Regions from separate parts of the Homo sapiens genome. Here all the other regions are linked to region 1. Evidence: promoter capture Hi-C in human tissues and cell types (Jung and others, 2019). All regions are on one chromosome and are shown on one strand. The core of a region is centred on a gene start or on the middle of the fragment in contact, and the rest is flanking DNA. Distances in the headings are between cores, read along the strand shown. Region 1 holds the start of CGNL1 (cingulin like 1). Region 2 overlaps CGNL1 (cingulin like 1). Region 3 overlaps CGNL1 (cingulin like 1).

Region 1 (2,811 bases), core at 208-2,707:
GTTGTTAGCTTTGGCTTTTTGAAGGAAAATTCTCCACATTTATGCAACTCCATTATCTACGTGGGGGAGTCTCCGGAGGGTCTCCAAAAGCTGACCAAACCCTAAAGTATTTTTTCTCCTTTTAATCTGAAATCATTCCCGAATATGACAAGTCAAATTATCACTTGGTTTTCCCTGAATAGGACAACCCTGTATTATAACCTTGACCCTGACAAGGACTGCTCGGTTCTAATGCCTACACTCCCACCTCCTTGGCAGAAAGTGCCCTGGCAGTATTGACTGTAAACAGAGAGGTAGAAACAAAGGGATCTTCAGTAAAGGCACCATCTACTGTCTAAAGTTGGAAAGCACCAATCAACAGGTTCTTCAGGTGGAGAGGTGGATTAGGGAAGAGCTATGAGGACCTGAGATGAGTTCTAGATCAGGACTGATCTTGAGCCGTCCGAAGAGTGGCTGGTGGGAGCAACTCTCAAAGCAGAGGTTTTCAAACTTGCCTGCACATTAGAATCACCTGCGGCGTCTTAAAAATTCCATTGTCCAGGCTGCAACCCAGGCAAGCCGAATCCAGATCTCTGGGAGTGGGACACAGGCACCAGTATTTTTTAAAACTCTCCAGATGTGGGGCCAAGTTTGAGAACCAATGCCCGCAAAAGCATTCCCAGCGAGCTTTGAGCAACGTTTTGAGCGGCATAAGCAGAGTCGGGAGGGCAGCGGCCTTAGGGTGAAGAACACACAAAGCAAATATACAAAGTTTCAAAAATCCTGTGTAACTAACTCCAACATGACAGCCAAGTACCTGTCTAGAGGCCAAACAGTGATGCAACTTGGAAAAGTCCCGGGGAGAGCTAGAATGTGTGCTCCGAGTGAGGCGGGGGCTCTCTCGGGGATGACCTCCCTGGGCGGCGCAGTGGTCTGGAGGATCGGGGAGAGAAAGGTCACACGCCCCTTTCTTTCCAGGGGATGGTCCGGCCGAGCACGCCGAGGACTTGTGTACGACAGGATAGGTCAGAAACTGCTTCGTGTGAGTCTCTCCCAGCTGTCACTAGAGCCGGAGGGTCCAGGCAGGGGTGCGAAGGCAGAAAGTCCCTCTTCACTAAAGGGAGGTTCTGCAGGGCCTCCTCCCTCCCACCCCGCCCCGAAGCGGGTTCCCCAGGGATCGCCCGCATCTGTTCTGCGCCTGCCCTCGGCGGGGCGCGGCGCGGGAGTCCGGGTCGCATCTTCGAGCCCCAGGACACGCGCGGCGCGGGTCACCGAGAGTGGACGCGCGGACTGAGCACAGTGCACCTGGCTGAGCCCGAACCCCTGGGGGTCCCGCCGCCCTGGGCGGCCCCTAGCACCCCGAAACCCGGCTGCCGGCGCACACCCCGCCCCGCTCCAGCCCGGAGCTCACTCACCGCCGCCGCCGCCTCCTCCCGCGTCCAGCTCCCGCCGCAGCCAGCAGAGCCCGGCCGGAGTGCAAGGGCCGCGGCGCCGCCGGGAGGCCGAGCGAGCCCGCGCCCCGCCCCGCAGTCGCCGCCCGCCCTCCTGGGAGGAGGGGCAGGGGCTGGCCGGGGGCCTGGACCCGCCGGGGCTGCCGGCGGGCCCAACCCTCCCTTCAATCCGCCCGCGGCCCGTCGGGACGAACCTACCCAGGAACCCCCGCACCACCCGCCCTCGGCTCCGCTGGGCCCGGGGCTGCGCTTAGACCTCACCCCTTCCCGGAGCCGTTCGTCCTTCCACCTCCCCTCCGCCGTCACCGGGCATTTTTCTTCTCCCAGCCTCGGCCTCTCCAAATTCCTGGCCTGCAGGAAGCCCTCCCTATTTCGCGCTCTCGACTGCGCCGAGCTCAGTTTACCCCTTTCCCTTCCTTTCCCTGCTTAGCCTTTTTCCCCCTCACTGTCAGAAACTTAAGGGATAGCGCTCTTCTGCCACCGCAAACCCACACCTATTTATTGAGCACCTACTGTGTCTAGACACTGGTGGGGAGGTTATCCCACTTGCGCGGTAACAAGAAATGTCTGTCTCTGTTGGAGAAACAGTAAAGTGAGGCGCCTCGTAAGGTCACACAGCTGGCGGTAGTAGGGCTGGGATTCGAATACAGTTTTTAGGTCCTTGTTTAGACCCACCCCACGATAAACTGCGGCACGCCTCTCGCTAGCTGTGAGAACTTGGGCAAAATGTTATCAGTTCTAAACCCCAGTTCACTCATCCGTAAAATGAAAAGCTGGATACTTCACCAGCTATGAGGATTCCCTGAGAAAACAACAACCTGTACTTTTTTTTTTTTTTTTTTTTTTTGGAGATGGAGTCTTGCTGTTTTGCCCAGGCTGGAGTGCAGTAGCGCGATCTCGGCTCATTGCCTCTGCCTCCCGGGTTCAAGCGATTCTCGTGCCTCAGCCTCCCGAGTAGCTGGGACTACAGGTGGCCACCACTACGCGCGGCTAATTTTTGTGTTTTTAGTAGAGACGGGGTTTCACCACGTTGGTCAGGCTGGTCTCGAACTCCTGACCTTAAGTAATCTACCCGCCTCGGCCTCCCAAAGTGCTGGGATTACAGATGTGAGCCACTGCGCCCTGCCCAACCTGTACTTAATACATGTTTGCTGACATATTGAATGAAATAGACCCTTGAAAACTTAACAATTCAAAACAATATAAAAGGACTTGAAAAAGTAATAGGTTGGTGCAAAAGTAATTGCAGTTTTGCTATTACTTTCAATGGGAAAAGCCACAGTTACTTTTGCTCCGACCTAATAATAGTGATTCATTGCCAGGAAAGAAAGAAAAAAAAAAAAAGATGCTACTTATCCCAAGTGGGCAGCATGGTCAAGGG
Region 2 (2,811 bases), core at 212-2,711, 54 kb before region 1:
TAGCTCTTGGAAGAACTATGAACATATGCCAGATAGAAACATTTCCTCTCTCTGGGCCATCACATGTTATCAGCTGAGCATGGAGATTAGTCACGTAATGCTGGTCCACACATCCCCGCCCCACAACTCTAATTCTCAGTGGCACCTCCAGGACCTGCATGCATATTCACCAGCCATTCCAGGGGCCCTGTGGCTACGGAGGAAATGCAACCAGGCAATCTGAAACCTTCACCTTTATGCTGTGGCTGGCCCTTGCCTCCAAGGACAAGAGTCCCCATCAGTCAAGCCAGGCTGGCCCAAGCAATCGGCATAGTACCTAGCATGGGGCAGAGACTCTAGGTATGTTTGCTTTGAACAAGTAATTCTATTTTACCATACAAATCACTTAAAAGAGCATCTAATACAGTGGGTAGAGAGGTGATGAGTCTCAGTGCAGTCTTGAGCTTAATTCTAGGAAATAAGAATTGACCCACCAACCAAAAAGTAATTTCCCCTGAGTGGGATCCTGTGACTGCCTCATTTAAAGAGAAGATACTACCAGGCTGATGATAAACATGAGCTAAAACCTCTAAATCCGGGGTGGCCAATCTTTTGGCTTCCCTGGGCCACATTGGAAGAAGACCAATTGTCTTGGGCCACACATAAAATGCACTAACACTAATGATAGCTGATGAGGTTTAAAAAAAAAATTACAAAAAAAACTCAAAATGTTTTAAGAATGTTTACGAATTTGCTTTGGGCGCATTCAAAGCCATCCTGGGCCACAGGCAGCCCACGGGCCGCAGGTTGGACAAGCTTGCTAAACAGTGGTTAACACATTTACTCCTAAAGGATGTGTCTGTGGAACTAGTGGGAAGACAGAATTTTGTATGGGGATATTCACACTAGAACCTCAACCAGATGAAATTGAAAGATCAGGGTGTGGAAAGCCAAGATTAGCAAAACACATATTAGTTTCAATGTATTCCCTAACATGACAGAAAGAGGCAGCCTTACCTAAACTGAGCTTTATGTTTTCTCTCTACGTGTTTTGTAGTGCAAATGTAGGAAACTGACCAAACTCTTCAGATTTTAAAGGAAGTGTCTTTGTATACAGTCAACCCTTCAGAACTCCCTGGGAAAACAATTTCAAAAATAAACTTGAGGTTTGGAAATGAAAGCAGAGTTGCTCTCTGTTTCACACAGTTCAGGATGGTTCGAATGTCTTCAAATGAACCTGACAACTAAAACTTTTCTATTTGGGGGGAAAAAATAAACTTATAACATTGAGTGCTACAGCTTCCCCCTAAACCCACCTTGTACAAAAAGGAAGATGGCAAAAAAGAAAAGCCTGTAAAAAGGCTCCTTTTACTAGGGTTGGAGACCTAGGAGAATCAACCAGGAGTCTGAAAATCTGGAGTTGGCCAGGCGCACTGGCTCACGCCTGTAATCCCAGCACTTTGGGAGGCTGAGGCAGGTTGATCACCTGCGGCCAGGAATTCGATACCAGCCTGGCCAACATAGCAAAATCCCATCTTTACTAAAAATATAAAACATGAGCCGGCCATGGTGGCGGTCACCTATAATCCCAGCTACTTGGGAGGCTGAGGCAGGGAGAATCACTTGAACCCTGGGGGTGGAGGTTGCAGTGAGCCAAGATTGCACCACTGCACTCCAGCCTGGGCAACAGAGTGAGACTCCATCTCAAAAAAGAAAATGTGGAGTCACTGGGACTCAACTCATCTGATCCACATGGCCTGGCCCTGAGAGCATGGGCACCAAGTGGCTCTCCCCCAAGAAGCCCCCACTTCCCCCTGGAAGTCTACCCGCCTCGTTTCCCTGTGGATGGGTCCCACTTCCCTTGCCCACTTCTCTTAACTGATTAGCACATATATCACCACTTAATTTACGGTGTCCATATGTTATCAATTTAACTTTTACTTTTTAATTTGTATTACTTTAATAAATTCAGTGGTTCGTATTTTATATTCTTCATGGTTACTGAAAAAAATACAGAATTCATGTCCCAAAAAAAGTGTTAGATAAGTCATTCATCCTTTTCACCTCTTGAGGCTTAAAATGATTTCTGAAAGTTTCTCCTACCAGGGCAGAGCTAAGCTACGAAAGTTTAAGGTTCTGAAGACAAGTAATGGCACCTGACTCCGAGATGCAGAAGCAGGAAATATTTCTGACATGCGGCTCAAGTCCAATATTGGCTCTGGAGAAGTTCTTTAATTTCTCTGTTTTCCTGTCTCTAAAGTCAGACTGTCAGTGATGACTTCATAAAGTAATTAGGAAAATCACATATTGTATGCTAAATGAAATGACGAAGATCAGCCGGGCAGTGGCTCACGCCAGTCACCCCAGCACTTTGGGAGGCTGAGGCAGGTGGGTCACTTGAGCCCAAGAGTCTCAGACCAGCCTGGGCAACACAGGGAGACCCCATCTCTATGAAAAATACAAAAATTAGCTGAGTGTGGTGGTGCGCACCTGTAGTCCCAGCTACTCAGGCGGCTGAGATAGGAGGATCAGCTGAGCCCAGAGAGGTCAAGGCTGCAGGGAGCTATGATCATGCCACCCCATGCCAGCCTGGGTGATAGACTGAGAGACCCTGTCTCAAAAAATAAGAGGGATCTGAGAAAGATTTCAATGTAGCATTTATGGGCACAAGAAAGCTGGCTTTGTTCATAAAATGTTTTGAAACACTTATGAGAAAAAGACTAAAAACCCCCACTAATTAACCAAGCAGCATTAACCACCAATATCCTGAAATAATTTATTAACTAATGAAGAAGCCAGAGGGCTAAGAATCTAAAGTACAATGCTATGTCC
Region 3 (2,811 bases), core at 157-2,656, 35 kb before region 1:
AAGGAGGAATGGAGGGAGGGAAGAAGGGAGGGAGGGAGGGAGGGAGGAAGAGAGGAAGAGAGAAAGAGAGAAAGAGAAAGAGAGAAAGAAAGAAAGAAAGAAGGAGAAGAAGGCCGGGTGTGGTGGCTCACGCCCTAATCCCAGCACTTTGGGAGGCCAAGGTGAGTGGATCACGGGGTCAGGAGTTCAAGACCAGCCTGGCCAACATGGTGAAACCCCATCTCTACTAAAACTACAAAAATTAGTCGGGCATGGTGGCACGCACCTGTCATCCCAGCTACTCAGGAGGCTGAGGCAGGAGAAATCCCTTGAACCCAGGAGGCAGAAGTTGCAGTGAGCCGAGATCGCGCCACTGTACTCCAGCCTGGGTGACAGTGAGATTCCGTCTCAAAAAGAAAAAAAAAGAAACTGAGATACTAAGAGATGGCACTGGGTACAGAAGGAGGGGAGTAGAGCTGGAAGCATGATCAACTCTCATCACATATGAATACCAGAATGGTTGTCATGTGAAAAGAAGATTAAACTTGGTCTGTGTGGCTCCAAAGGTTAGAACAACCAATAAAGAGTAGATGTGCCAGGGACACAAACTCCACTTCAATCGAAAGGGGGAAATGAGCTTTCTCACAGAGATGCGTCAAGATAAACTAGGCTGTTTCAGGAGACAATGAGTTCCCCATGAGGTGGAGGAAGGCAAACAGGGCCTGGCTATCCATTCACAAGCAGGTTTGAGAAAGGAGTCCCGCATCAGCCAGGTTCCTGGGAAATGTGATAATCAAAGATGCCATCTCATATTTACTCAGACAACAATCATCCCTTAACAGATACAGAGAACATCAAGATAATCACACCAAAGAGGCCAGAGGAGAGCAGAGTAAGGAACAGCATTTAAGAGAAAAGAGGATGCAGAGCCACCAAAGAACAAAGGGTTTTCTCCAGATCTTATCTGAGCGTTTTATCTGTACAGAAAAGGTCTTGAGGATAAAAGGCTCCCTGCTGAGTGAAGCTGCCTCTGTCTACAGCTAGGATGAGGGTGGTTCGGGCCACCCACTAACATCCACTGCCTGTGAAACTCCAGCCTGGGACAGAAATAAACGAGAATCTCAGGAGTGACTTTCAGGCACATCACCAGCACCCGTCTGATGCCAACACAAACTCTCCAAACTGTCATCAGCTGGTTGCCCTCTTGGCAGAGGAAGGAAGTCAATCCAAACCTGTCCCAAAAGGAAACCTGCGAATGTCACACAACAAGAAGCTCTGAACGTTAGCGGGGCTTTGAATGCTAGATAATCGACAGCAAACACAGAAAATATGAGCGCTGATGGAATTTTCCAAGAAGCATTTGATGCTCTTGTTTAAAATAAGTAAACTTCCAGGACTAGGAAAGGGGTGGAAGACAGCACCAAGGCTCTCAGTGAGGTTTTTTAAGATATTAAGAAGCTCTATACAGCAGCTGAGCCAAAGGCCAGTGGAATTATCCACATCAAAAGAGAATTGGGGAAGAAAAAAAAAAAACTAGTGAGATCTGGGCCAGGTGCGGTGGCTCATGCTGTAATCCCAGCACTTTGGGAGGCTGAGGTGGGTGGATCACCTGAAGTCAAGAGTTGGAGACCAGCCTGGCCAAAATGGTGAAACCTCATCTCTACCAAAAATACAAAAAATTAGCCTGGCATGGTGGCGGACACCTGTAATCCCAGATACTTGGGAGGGTGAAGCATGAGAATTGCTTGAACCTGGTAGGTGGAGGTTGCAGTGAGCTGAGATTGCGCCATTGCACTCCAGCCTGGGTGACAGAGCAAGGCTCTGTCTCAAAAAAAAAAAAAAGAAAAAGAAAAAAAGAAAACTAGTGGCATCTGGACAGTGCATGGCACAAATATCAGAACAGCTAAACTGCAAGTTCCCTGAGGACAAGGAAAACCAGATCTGGTTTTGACTCCCCAGAGAGATCACAGTTGGTATACAAGAGAACGTCCAAGTGAACAAATATGAAGCCAGCAGTGACTCCAAGAAAGGAGGAACAGGAAGGCTCTAGACAGCTGTGATGATTCTGGAGAAAATAAGCTCGTATTCTAAAAAGGAAGACTCAGAGACCGGCTCATGTCAGAAAAGTCTCTGTGTCTGTGGATGGAGTCCAACATATGACACTCTTTAGTCATATTTTGATATTAAGAAAACATGGCCAATATCACCATCCAACATGGTATAAATGTGATAAATTTTAGTAAGACCTTCAAAAGTTATTTTTTAAAAAACTTGGTCTTTGTGGTACAGTAACAATTATGTTCTCTAAGCTGTTACAGCTTATCTTTAGATTCTTGTATGAAAACACCAACACCACATATTTATCATCTTGTTTTCAAGCAAATCTGATTTTTCCCCACTGAATCTGACAAGACACAAACGTTACGAACTTCAGTCTCTTATTAAGGATTGCATTTTATTTTTTTAGCAAGAGAGAAAAGAAGCTAAAGCGATACAATTACATCCTGACTAATACAAGATTTGAAGGGCACTCCTCATAAGCATGAGAAAATTAAGAGGCAAAAGTTTAGCATTTTGAAAAACTAGTTTAGCAGATAATATAGCCTCCGATATTGTGGAAAGAATTTATTTTATCTTTCTCAATTGTTGTTATTGGACCTCTTCATACTCACTCCTCCCTCCCTGCTACACACACGTACACATGTTGGGACCACACAGACACAGCCAAAATGCCTGCCTAGAAAGAGAGAGGTGGTGATGGGAAAGCTTCCAGAACACTCTCCCATCTGCTGACATAGCCAGCGACATGGAATAGAAGAGAGGAGAGATGAT

What was found. The method cuts DNA at HindIII sites, captures the fragments that hold promoters and counts their contacts. A contact is called where the count stands out against the background at its distance.
Region 2: a contact is called between a fragment that was not itself captured here and the fragment with the promoter of CGNL1 in region 1, in 8 of the 25 tissues and cell types used here (aorta, bladder, hippocampus and 5 more).
Region 3: a fragment that was not itself captured here is called in contact with the fragment with the promoter of CGNL1 in region 1 in 3 of the 25 tissues and cell types used here (liver, neural progenitor cells and thymus).

Annotation. Positions count from the first base shown.
Region 1 is chr15:57,375,151-57,377,961 of GRCh38, reverse strand. It overlaps CGNL1 (cingulin like 1), which reads right to left and starts at 1,457. Exons shown (of 19, transcript NM_032866.5): 1 at 1,395-1,457. The HindIII fragment of the contact is 14,520 bases long and covers 1-2,811 here.
Region 2 is chr15:57,429,612-57,432,422 of GRCh38, reverse strand. All of the region lies in intron 1 of CGNL1 (cingulin like 1), which reads right to left. Among named protein-coding and RNA genes, the nearest start is that of CGNL1, 55 kb to the right of the region's middle. The HindIII fragment of the contact is 4,332 bases long and covers 1-2,811 here.
Region 3 is chr15:57,410,458-57,413,268 of GRCh38, reverse strand. All of the region lies in intron 1 of CGNL1 (cingulin like 1), which reads right to left. Among named protein-coding and RNA genes, the nearest start is that of CGNL1, 35 kb to the right of the region's middle. The HindIII fragment of the contact is 7,628 bases long and covers 1-2,811 here.